Regions from separate parts of the Homo sapiens genome. Here region 1 is linked to region 2. The links are contacts of gene promoters, found by promoter capture Hi-C in human tissues and cell types (Jung and others, 2019). All regions are on one chromosome and are shown on one strand. The core of a region is centred on a gene start or on the middle of the fragment in contact, and the rest is flanking DNA. Distances in the headings are between cores, read along the strand shown.

Region 1 (4,497 bases), core at 1,371-3,870, 310 kb after region 2:
GCCTTTCCCAGCCCCACAGGTCGAGGCAAGTCACTTGTGACACCCCGACCTCAGCATTTTTATACGTGCAGGGTCAGACTAGGACAAGATGTTTTCGAAAATTTCTTTCCGCTCTGTTTTTTGATGTAGAAACACTTGCAGAAGGTAAGGGAAGGAATGACTCTAAATGGAAGGGCACTGAAGACCAACGCTCGCAACGTCAGGAGAAATCAGTATTCACTTTCACTTATTTGCAGTTCCATGTGAAGAACTATCATCTTTATCTTTAGTTAAAAAAAAAAAAACCGCCATTTACCTCTAGTGAAAATGCAGACGGTTGCCTCATTTTGTAACCGCATTCCTAGAAATCTCATACTAAAATGCATTTTATGAACCAAGTAGAATTTTCCCTGTAGGAAGATTGCTAATTCGGAATTGAGTTCCATATCAAGAATGTGGCATCAAATAAATTATAGACATCACTAACAATTTAAGGGGAGAAATATAACTATAAACTTCTATAATCATTTAAAATAGTAAAGGTGTGTTCCAACTCACATAAAATGGGCATGAGTATATTGTACATGTTGATTATACCGAGAGACCCCAATGTGCTATCAAGTGTACATAGAATGCATAAAATTCTAACATTAGTGTACCATAAACAGCCTAAAACCAGCCTACTAGCTATAATAAATTTAATTAAACATTAAATGAACAGTAATTTGGTTTTCCTTCTTAGACTTCAGAAGGGCTTCTTGAGGCTAATTTGACTACCTTGGATCTCCAATAAACAACAACAAAAATCAGCTGAAGTGAATGTGTTTCTTCTCCTTTTGATAATTTCTGGTAACAATCTGGGGGATTTGGGCTACTTCAAAAACTGGAACCATCTTAAAGTAAGAGAGTAGATGCCAATACACATTTAGTAATATAATGTGTTTTGGAAGATCATGATGATAACATTTTCCCCCAAATAAACATTTTTTAAGCAAAAGCTTATCTCTGCGTCACCCTTTCTTGTCTTCTCCCTTGGTTTAAAAGTTGGACTTTGTATTGGACCAAATAAAGGCCAACCAATAAGAGAACAGTAAGTGCTAATTAAATCACTCCCTGTGACACACTGTTGACAGCTATTAGAGACCTTCACACCTTATCAGAAAGCTGGAAAATAATGACAAGTCATTAGAATAGGCTTTAAAAATAATTTTAAAACATTTCTCTCAGGCAAAAGACAGTTATAGGAATGCATATTGACAGTCCACAACTTTGATGAAAAAAAATAATTTCTTTGTTTTATACTTTACAGCTTAAAACTATTGGGTAATTTGATGATCATAGCTATCCTGTTAAACAAATATGTCAAGCACCATAATTTCTTATTTTGTGATTGAAGAAATGAGATCTTAGCTAGCTTAAGGGATTTCTTTAGGGGTATGAAGCTAGAGAAAGGTATTAAGAACTGAGGCATTATTTTAGAAGCATGGAGAGGTGGTGTCCACAGTATTTTATAAATACGAGTCCATTAATCATAAAATAATCACAATAATGAAAAGTAACTGAAGGGTACCACTTCATATAGGTGTTCTCTTCACAATATTCAGTTAATTTAAAACCACCCCTTGGCCCATGGCTGTCCACTCTCTGCAGGGACCCTTCAAGGCAGGGATAATTATCACACAAGGCAGAACACTACATTTTTTGAAAAACTGTTTCAGTGGTTAAAAAATCTTTCTTCATTTAACCTAATTTTGCTTTCTAGAATCTCAAAGGATGTGCCCAATCCTTCTTTCACACAACATTTCAAATATTCGAAGATCGCTTTCATGTTTCCCCACTCGTAAGGCATGGCTTCCAGACTTTCTGTCCTCCTTTTGGCCATTCTTTGATTTATCTACGCCACTTTTAAAACCAGGTGCCCAGAAATGACCATCAAACTTCAAGAGCTCTTTGACCAGTATATAGTGAACTGGAATTTCTATTAATATAGCTTTCTGTGTTCTGGACTGAAATTTCTATTAATATAGCTTAAGATAGCAGCAATTTTTGGCAGACACATCATGAAGTTGGCTCTTGCATCCAACTAAAATCTCTATTTTTTCCACATAATCAGCTATTGAGTCAGTTCTCTCATATCATAATTATAATAGGTTGTGACATCCGCAAATATGAGAGGCATATCTTTATGTATTCAGTGTTTCTCAACAAGAGTGCTAATGAAATTTTAGACAGGAAAATTCTTTGTTGTGTGGGACTGTCCCTCATATTGCAGGATGGAATTAAATATTAATGAACAACATCTGATTGACATTGTGACAATGGAAAATCATACTACACACCTCTAAAATGCCCTTAGAAAAGAGATTCCACCGCAGTTGAGAATCTTTATCAAATTATCCATTGAAAAGGTTGCAATTAAAGAACAAAGCCCTCTATCATGCCTGTATAGACTTCCTTTAACTTTGACATCTACTTATGTAAAACACCCTATGGATATAATTTTCATTCAGCTGCTCATCTGCCTCAACGTACAGTAATAGAGCCATATTCCTCCTTTTTATTCACAAAGACAAGATGGAAACATTGGAAATTTTCACATTCAAAAAAATAGTAGAGAAAGTTAGCATAGGCTAAACATGACAATAGTTGATTATAGTTGTGGGAGCTAGTGTCCAAAGTCGGCTTCCCAATGAGCTGTGCCACCTGCTACTCATGACCTCGTAGTCTCCTGTCATTGGATACTGGCTGGCTGTGTGACTTGCTGGAACTTATAAAATGCAGTATAAGTGATGTTCCAAAGCTAGGCCAGAAGGAGCCTTGAAGTTTCTTACTTGCTCTCTTGAAACACTATCTCTGAGAGCTCTTAACAGCCATCCAAGAAATCAGACTACCCTGAGCTGCCGTTCTGTTGAGCCCCCAATGGGTACTCCCAGCCGAGCCTAACCTTTTAGTCATGGTTAACAAGGTGCCAGTCATGAATGAGGACATCTTTTACTTTCCGGACTAGTCAAATACTGCTGAGTGACTTTACTTAACGCCACATGGAGCAAAAGAATTGCTAGGAGAAGCCTTCCCATAATCCTGACCCACAAAATTTTAAGACATAATAAAATTTGACAGAAGAGCTTGTGTTCTTTCCTCCCTAAAATTCATATTCTGCAGTAAACTCGGCATTCATTTATTCACTCATTCATCACGCATTTATTAAACTCCTATTGTGTTCCAGCACTTCGATATTGGGAATAAAATGGATGATAAATAATCCACTATCTCTCAACTCAGGGACATCACACTAGAGTGTAGGAGACTCATAAACCAATAATTACAATAAAATGTAGAGTAGCACAATGTGCACTCTAGTAGCACACTAGAGTGTAGCACAATGGAGATGAGTTGGAGCACTATGAAAGCCTAGAGAAAGACCTAAAGTTGGAGTCAAGGGATGTCAGGGGAGGTCTTTTGGAAGTTAAGGGTCATAGAAGGCAAAATAGAGTTATCCAGGCAAAAAAAAAAAATTGAATAGAAAGGATTTTTCAGGAAGAGAAAACAGCAAGTGGTGACAAAGAATTTTGAAAACACAATGCATTAGAAGTTTAGCATAGCTAAAATCCAGAGCACAAGGAAGAAATTAATAGTTATGATGGAGGTTGATATGGAAGTACAATAGAAACGGAAGCTAAAATAGTCTCCAAAATGGCCCTACCCACAGTGATCCTGGTATTCAGACAGTGGTGTGGTCCCCTCCTGCATTCTATCAAGGCTGGTCTGTATGACCAACAGCACACAGCAGAAGTGATGGCAGGTCATGTCCAAGATTAGTAAGAAACTGAAAACCCCTGCCGATAATCCTGTGAGTAAGCTACGAAGCAGATCTCCCAGTCAGTCAAGCACTCAGAGATGGCGGCCCCAGCTGACAGCTTGACTACAAGCTTACTCCCAGATGCTTAATGCTCAGAGACCATGTTTGGGCTTTAAACTGCTAAGTTGTAGGGTTATATGTTAGGCAACAATACATAAATAATAGACCATGCTGTGAAGTTTGACCATTATCTTGAAACTGAAAGAAAGTCATTAAAGGATTTTAAATGGGTGAACAACAATGTGGACACTGGAAAGTCATGCGGTCAGCCGTATGAAGGTAAAGTGAAGGAGAGAAAGGGATGTTGTAATAATCCAGTCCTGAGCAGATGAAAAACTGCACTAAAACAAGTGGAAGAAAATAAGCTGAAGAGGGAAATTTGAACTATGTTAATGAACCCAGGTTTCTGGTTTACACAGTTGGGTAAGCAGAGCACTTTGCTGAGACAGAGGACACAAGAAGGAGACAGAATCTGGAATTTGTAGGAAAGATGATGTACTTAGATTTGAACATGTTAGCATAAAGAGGCCTATGAGACTTCCAAGAGGAGATGTAAAGATACAGAAGACATACGGGTCTGGGGCTGATATAGTTTGGCTGTGTGCCCACCCACGTCTCATCTTGAACTGTAGCTCCCACAATTCCCACTTGTTGTGAGA
Region 2 (4,815 bases), core at 776-3,275:
GGGCTTGGGACCTTCCCTCTCCCTACCTCTGACCCCTCACCCTACCCCTTGCCTGCTTAGTTTTCATTTTTGCTGTCAACCCCCACAGAAACTGCTTTTCCGAAACTGCCCGATCCTGAACTCAGCTTCCCCACTTCATTCTTGTGCACCCAGAACAAGCAGGGGTGCACACACACGCACGCACACACACACACACTGATACTGCTTCATATTATATAAGAGGAGTCAATCGAGGATGCCTCCAAGTTGATTCCCTTCACTCAAACACCCACCAAAGCCCCTAGGGGACAGCAGGGAATCCTGAGGCCCATGCCTCCTGGGGTTGGGTGCAGCAGACGACATCATGGACATCCCTGCAAGATTCACCACCTTGGACTTCCTTATCACCCGACACAGATCCCTCCTGTCCCCACCCCTTGCCTTCTTCATCGAGCCCCAGTCAAGGGTGTACACATTTGATCCTTCCAGCCTGGTCTCTCTGCCCACCTTACGTGGATCCACACTGCAGCCACTGCAACCTATGTCAAGAGGACAGCAGCAATCCCTAAATCCTAACCTCGGAGAAGAGCCAGCAGGACTACAGCTCAGGACTCAGTCCAGATCAGGAGAACTCCATATTGCAGGGGGAGAAGAGGGCGAGGGGGTGGGACTCCCCATCGTTTTTCACCGGGTCAGAGGGAACTTTCCTCTGGGAATACAACTGCATAGGACTGAGCCTCACCTCCCAAGAGAGGGCTCCTCCTCCCGGAGCCCTGCTGGGCCACCCTGGGAAAGTTTCTCAGCTTGTCTCGATCCTTACGAGTTTTAGCTGTGTTTAATATAAAAGAGGCAAACTAGTTACCCCAAAGGACAGGGCAGGTGGGAGCAAGAAGATTAGTGGATAATTCTGTTGCTGGAACGAACAGACGTGAGAGCCGGGATGGGGTGTGGGGAGGCACGGTGCAGCAAATGGACTCAAGGTGGAGGCCGATTCCAAATGCACAGAACACAGCACTGGGGACATCAAAGCTTGCACTCAACTGCAGCCCCCAGGGCTCCCGGCTCAGCCGATAAATAAACAGAAAATTAGCATTCGACTCTTATTGCCTCTCTCCCTTCAACTTCGAAAAGCTTTTTAGAATTTCAGAGCCCCGGCTCCCCTCGCTTCCACACCTCCGACCCCAGCCACAAACACACCCCCGAACACATTTAAAACTAATACAGTTGTCCCCCACTGCTGCAAATTGACTCATCCCTTGCAGCTGGATCGCTGACCAGAACCTCACAGGAAGCACCTGATTCTTTCTAGCCTGCATTTTCCCCTTTGCTCCTTTTAAAAGCTTTGCAAGTTCGCTGGCCGATATTTAAAGTTTCCTCTTGTAATTTCTTCCCAGTCGCATAAGCAACACATTAGCAACCCTGTTGCCCTCCGAATCTGTCATTTCCCCCTGCTTACATGTGTGCTCCGTTGTGTATGTGTGCAAGAATGTGCATGAAGCCAGGGAGCCTTGCACACAAGCACAGTCCTAACAGGAGCACCAAACACATTTTACTTATGCACATACATATTCCCCCATTCCGGTAGCAGCCAGAATCAAATCAATATTCTCACAGCCTAGTCGGGAGAATGAAGTCCCAGCCATGCTGTCTAAACGCTCTCTCCTCCACCTGCAAACAGCGCAGCACAGCCGACTCGGGGAGTCTGCAAATCTTATAAAGCACACTGTACAATTCCTGGGTCTACCGAAGGCAAATCAATAGCAAGCTCTTACCTTGGAAGAGACACAGAGCAGCCAGCCCCGTGAAGATTGCCCAAGAGATAGAATTGTGCATTTTTGGCTGGATGGTTTTCATGATTTTTTTTCTTCTTCTTTTTCTTCTTTTTTGTCAGGTTCGGTTTTTTTCTTTCTTTCTTTCCTGATAGATTGTGTTGCTCTCAAGCTTGTGCAAGGAGATTTAAATCCACTGTTTTGCTGAAGGACACAACAAGAAAGCCGAGGGTGTGAGAGAGTATGACTTCTCCGTAATTATCTCCACTCATACTCTGGCACTGAGACACATTGTACAATCTGGCCCTGGACAGCCCTCCTACAAGCTGCAATCATTGGTTCTAATCCAAGGATTGACAGAGCTACAACACACGCGCGCGGGCACACACACACACACACACGCACACACACTCTCAGGAATCATTTACTGGGCAAATCAGGCTAGCTGATTAAAGAGACAGGAGCCTGGAGAGATAGAATGATAAATGCCACTTTGCCCCTTCTATATTACTTTCATTTTTTAAACTGACAGTCTCTGAGTCTTCTGAGTATCAGAAAATCCCTTTCCCCCTGGCATTCCCTGGCCTCCTGAACTCAGATTCCCTTTGCACTGGAAAAATCCCATAGCCAGCCATGGCTTATGGGAAATTTTAAAGGGACATTTTCATGCTCAGTGAAACTTGTAAAGATGAGGCAATTTTCATTTGTTGGTACCTATTTTCCCCTCCAATGGAAATATCATTCAGTGACAGCTTTTTTTTCTCTCTTTCATCAACCTTTCTACTTAGTTGCTTTGAAAATAGTAAATAACTTTCTATTTTCTCCTCCTGTCACTTCTGTTTCAGAACATCTATGTTACTCCTCTTTTTCATTCACTTTTTAGAAGTCAATTTCCTAAATTCATCCATGTGTATATGATACAATGGAAAGGTACAAAGTACCTGGTATTTGAGAAGAAGCTCTATAGTCTGAAGATGGAGAACCTTCTTCAAAAGAAAACAAAGCAGGAGTTTATTCCCCATGACTTGGTCAATCCACATCCACTAAAGCAATCATAGAAGCATCTGTGATTTAAACTGCAGCGAGAAAGATTCAGGGTAGACATGCGGAGGGGCTTTCTGAGTGTAAACTTTGTGTAGTTCCTCAGACAGTTGAAGACATTAACCTCCTTGGTGATAGGAAAGAATAAAAACCGAACAGAAATAATCTAATGGACATAAATGATTTCTTAAGAGGTCTAATTCTAGGGCCTGGAAGTTTATTCTAATCTTTGGCTTCCCCTTATGAGAAGCAAGTTAGAGGATGTGAACAAAAAATCTAGAAAATGTAGCTCCTGGCTGGGCACTGTGGCTCACGCCTGTAATCCCACAACTTTGGGAGGCCAAGGAAGGCCAGTAGCCTGAGCTCAGGAATTCGAGACCAGCCTGGGCAACATGGTGAAACCCTATCTCTACTAAAAAATTCCTTAAAAATATCTGGGTTTGGTGGTGCGCACCCGTGGTTCCAGCCACTTGGGTGGCTGAGGCAGGAGAATTGCTTGAGCCTGGGAGGCGGAGATCACAGTAAGCCAAGATGGCGCCACTACAATCCAGTCTGGGTGACAGAGCCAGCCCCTGTCTCAAGAAAAAAAAAAAAAAAAAAGAAAAGAAAAAGAAAATGTAGTTTCTCACAGAACCTTCCTTAGCTAATTCTGACACATTCATACCCCTACTATGCCTTGACACACATTTTAAAAATATTCTTCTAGAACTCCACCGCTAATTATTATACTTCCTTGTAACCCCATAAAAATGTTCATGTATTTTCAAACTGCATAGAAGAAAAGTACTCATTGTCTGTTTGTATTTTAGTGTACAGAGGTGAAATGAAAACATCACTGCCATTTTGCACATGTCTAAGACGTACGATTTACCTTGGCTTTTTTCTTTTTTCTTTCTTTTTTGTTTTTGTTTTTGACAGACTCTTGCCCCGTCACCCAGGTTGGAGTGCAGTGGTGCAATCACAGCTCACCGCAACTTTGAACTCCTGGGCTCAAGGAACCCTCCTGCCTTACCCACTATGCCCAGCTATTTTTTTTTTTTTTTTAATTTTCTACAACATAGTAGAGATGAAGTCTCACTATGTTGCTCAGGCTGGTTTCAAACTCCTTGCCTCAAGCAGTCCTTCCAGCCTTGGCCTCCCACAAGTTTACCTTGTGTTGTGTATGAATAGGGACAACACTGCCTGGAATGTGGGATCTTGTGACCTTGAGAGGAAGGGGCCCTGGGACCTCAAGATCTGGGGACCTCAAGATCCTTCTCATAGTTCTGCACAACTAAGGGACCTCAGGCAGGTCCTTTCACCTCTGTGAACCTTGGCTTCTTGTCTATAAAATTGTAGAACTGGAATAATTTATTATACTCCTTCTCATTTTAAAGATGTTTTATGTTAACTGGTATTTTTTTTCTTCTTGCCATTAAGTTCTAATTCACATATCTATCAAAATGTCCTTGATATCGTGAGCTCCCAATGGACAAGAATTTTATCTGTAGATGAGTCTTTTTGTGCGGTGCTCAGCATAGTGACATGTGTAATTAAATGCTTTGGAACAACTGTGACGGCAGGTGATAACAGTGCAGTGCAGAAGGAAGGTGGCTTCCTTTCACCACCATTTCATTTCTCTCCAGAACGATGATAAAGATCATGGGCCACTGGTAAGTCTTTAGTCCCAATCAGGAGAGGTGGACAATAACATTTGTAAATGTCCTTACCCTGAACTGTAATAAATCTATACAGTTACCAATGTTTATTAAGCTCCCAGGTGTGTACAGATAATAAGAAATTAATCATCGGAGTTGATATTTATTGATATTTATTTGCAATGTGCTAGACATGATACTCAGTGTTTTGCATGCATTTTTCTCATTAAATAATCACAACCTATGAAGTGGTGATATTATCATCCCCATTTTATAAATGAGGGCATTGAGGCTCAGAAAAAGCTTGTCCACAGCCACACAACAGTTAAGGAATGGAATCAGGATTTAAACCTGAGCATTTTCATCTTAGATCAACTTCAATAATAATA

Evidence for each region. Contacts are between HindIII fragments. The study calls those that stand out against the background at their distance.
Region 1: a fragment that was not itself captured here is called in contact with the fragment with the promoter of NTM in region 2 in 1 of the 25 tissues and cell types used here (mesendoderm cells).

What each region holds. Positions count from the first base shown.
Region 1 is chr11:131,058,175-131,062,671 of GRCh38, reverse strand. No RefSeq gene overlaps it. Among named protein-coding and RNA genes, the nearest start is that of SNX19, 140 kb to the right of the region's middle. The HindIII fragment of the contact is 4,893 bases long and covers 174-4,497 here.
Region 2 is chr11:131,367,825-131,372,639 of GRCh38, reverse strand. NTM (neurotrimin) reads right to left here and starts at 2,025. Exons shown (of 9, transcript NM_001352005.2): 1 at 1,752-2,025. The coding sequence starts at 1,833. The HindIII fragment of the contact is 4,341 bases long and covers 1,621-4,815 here.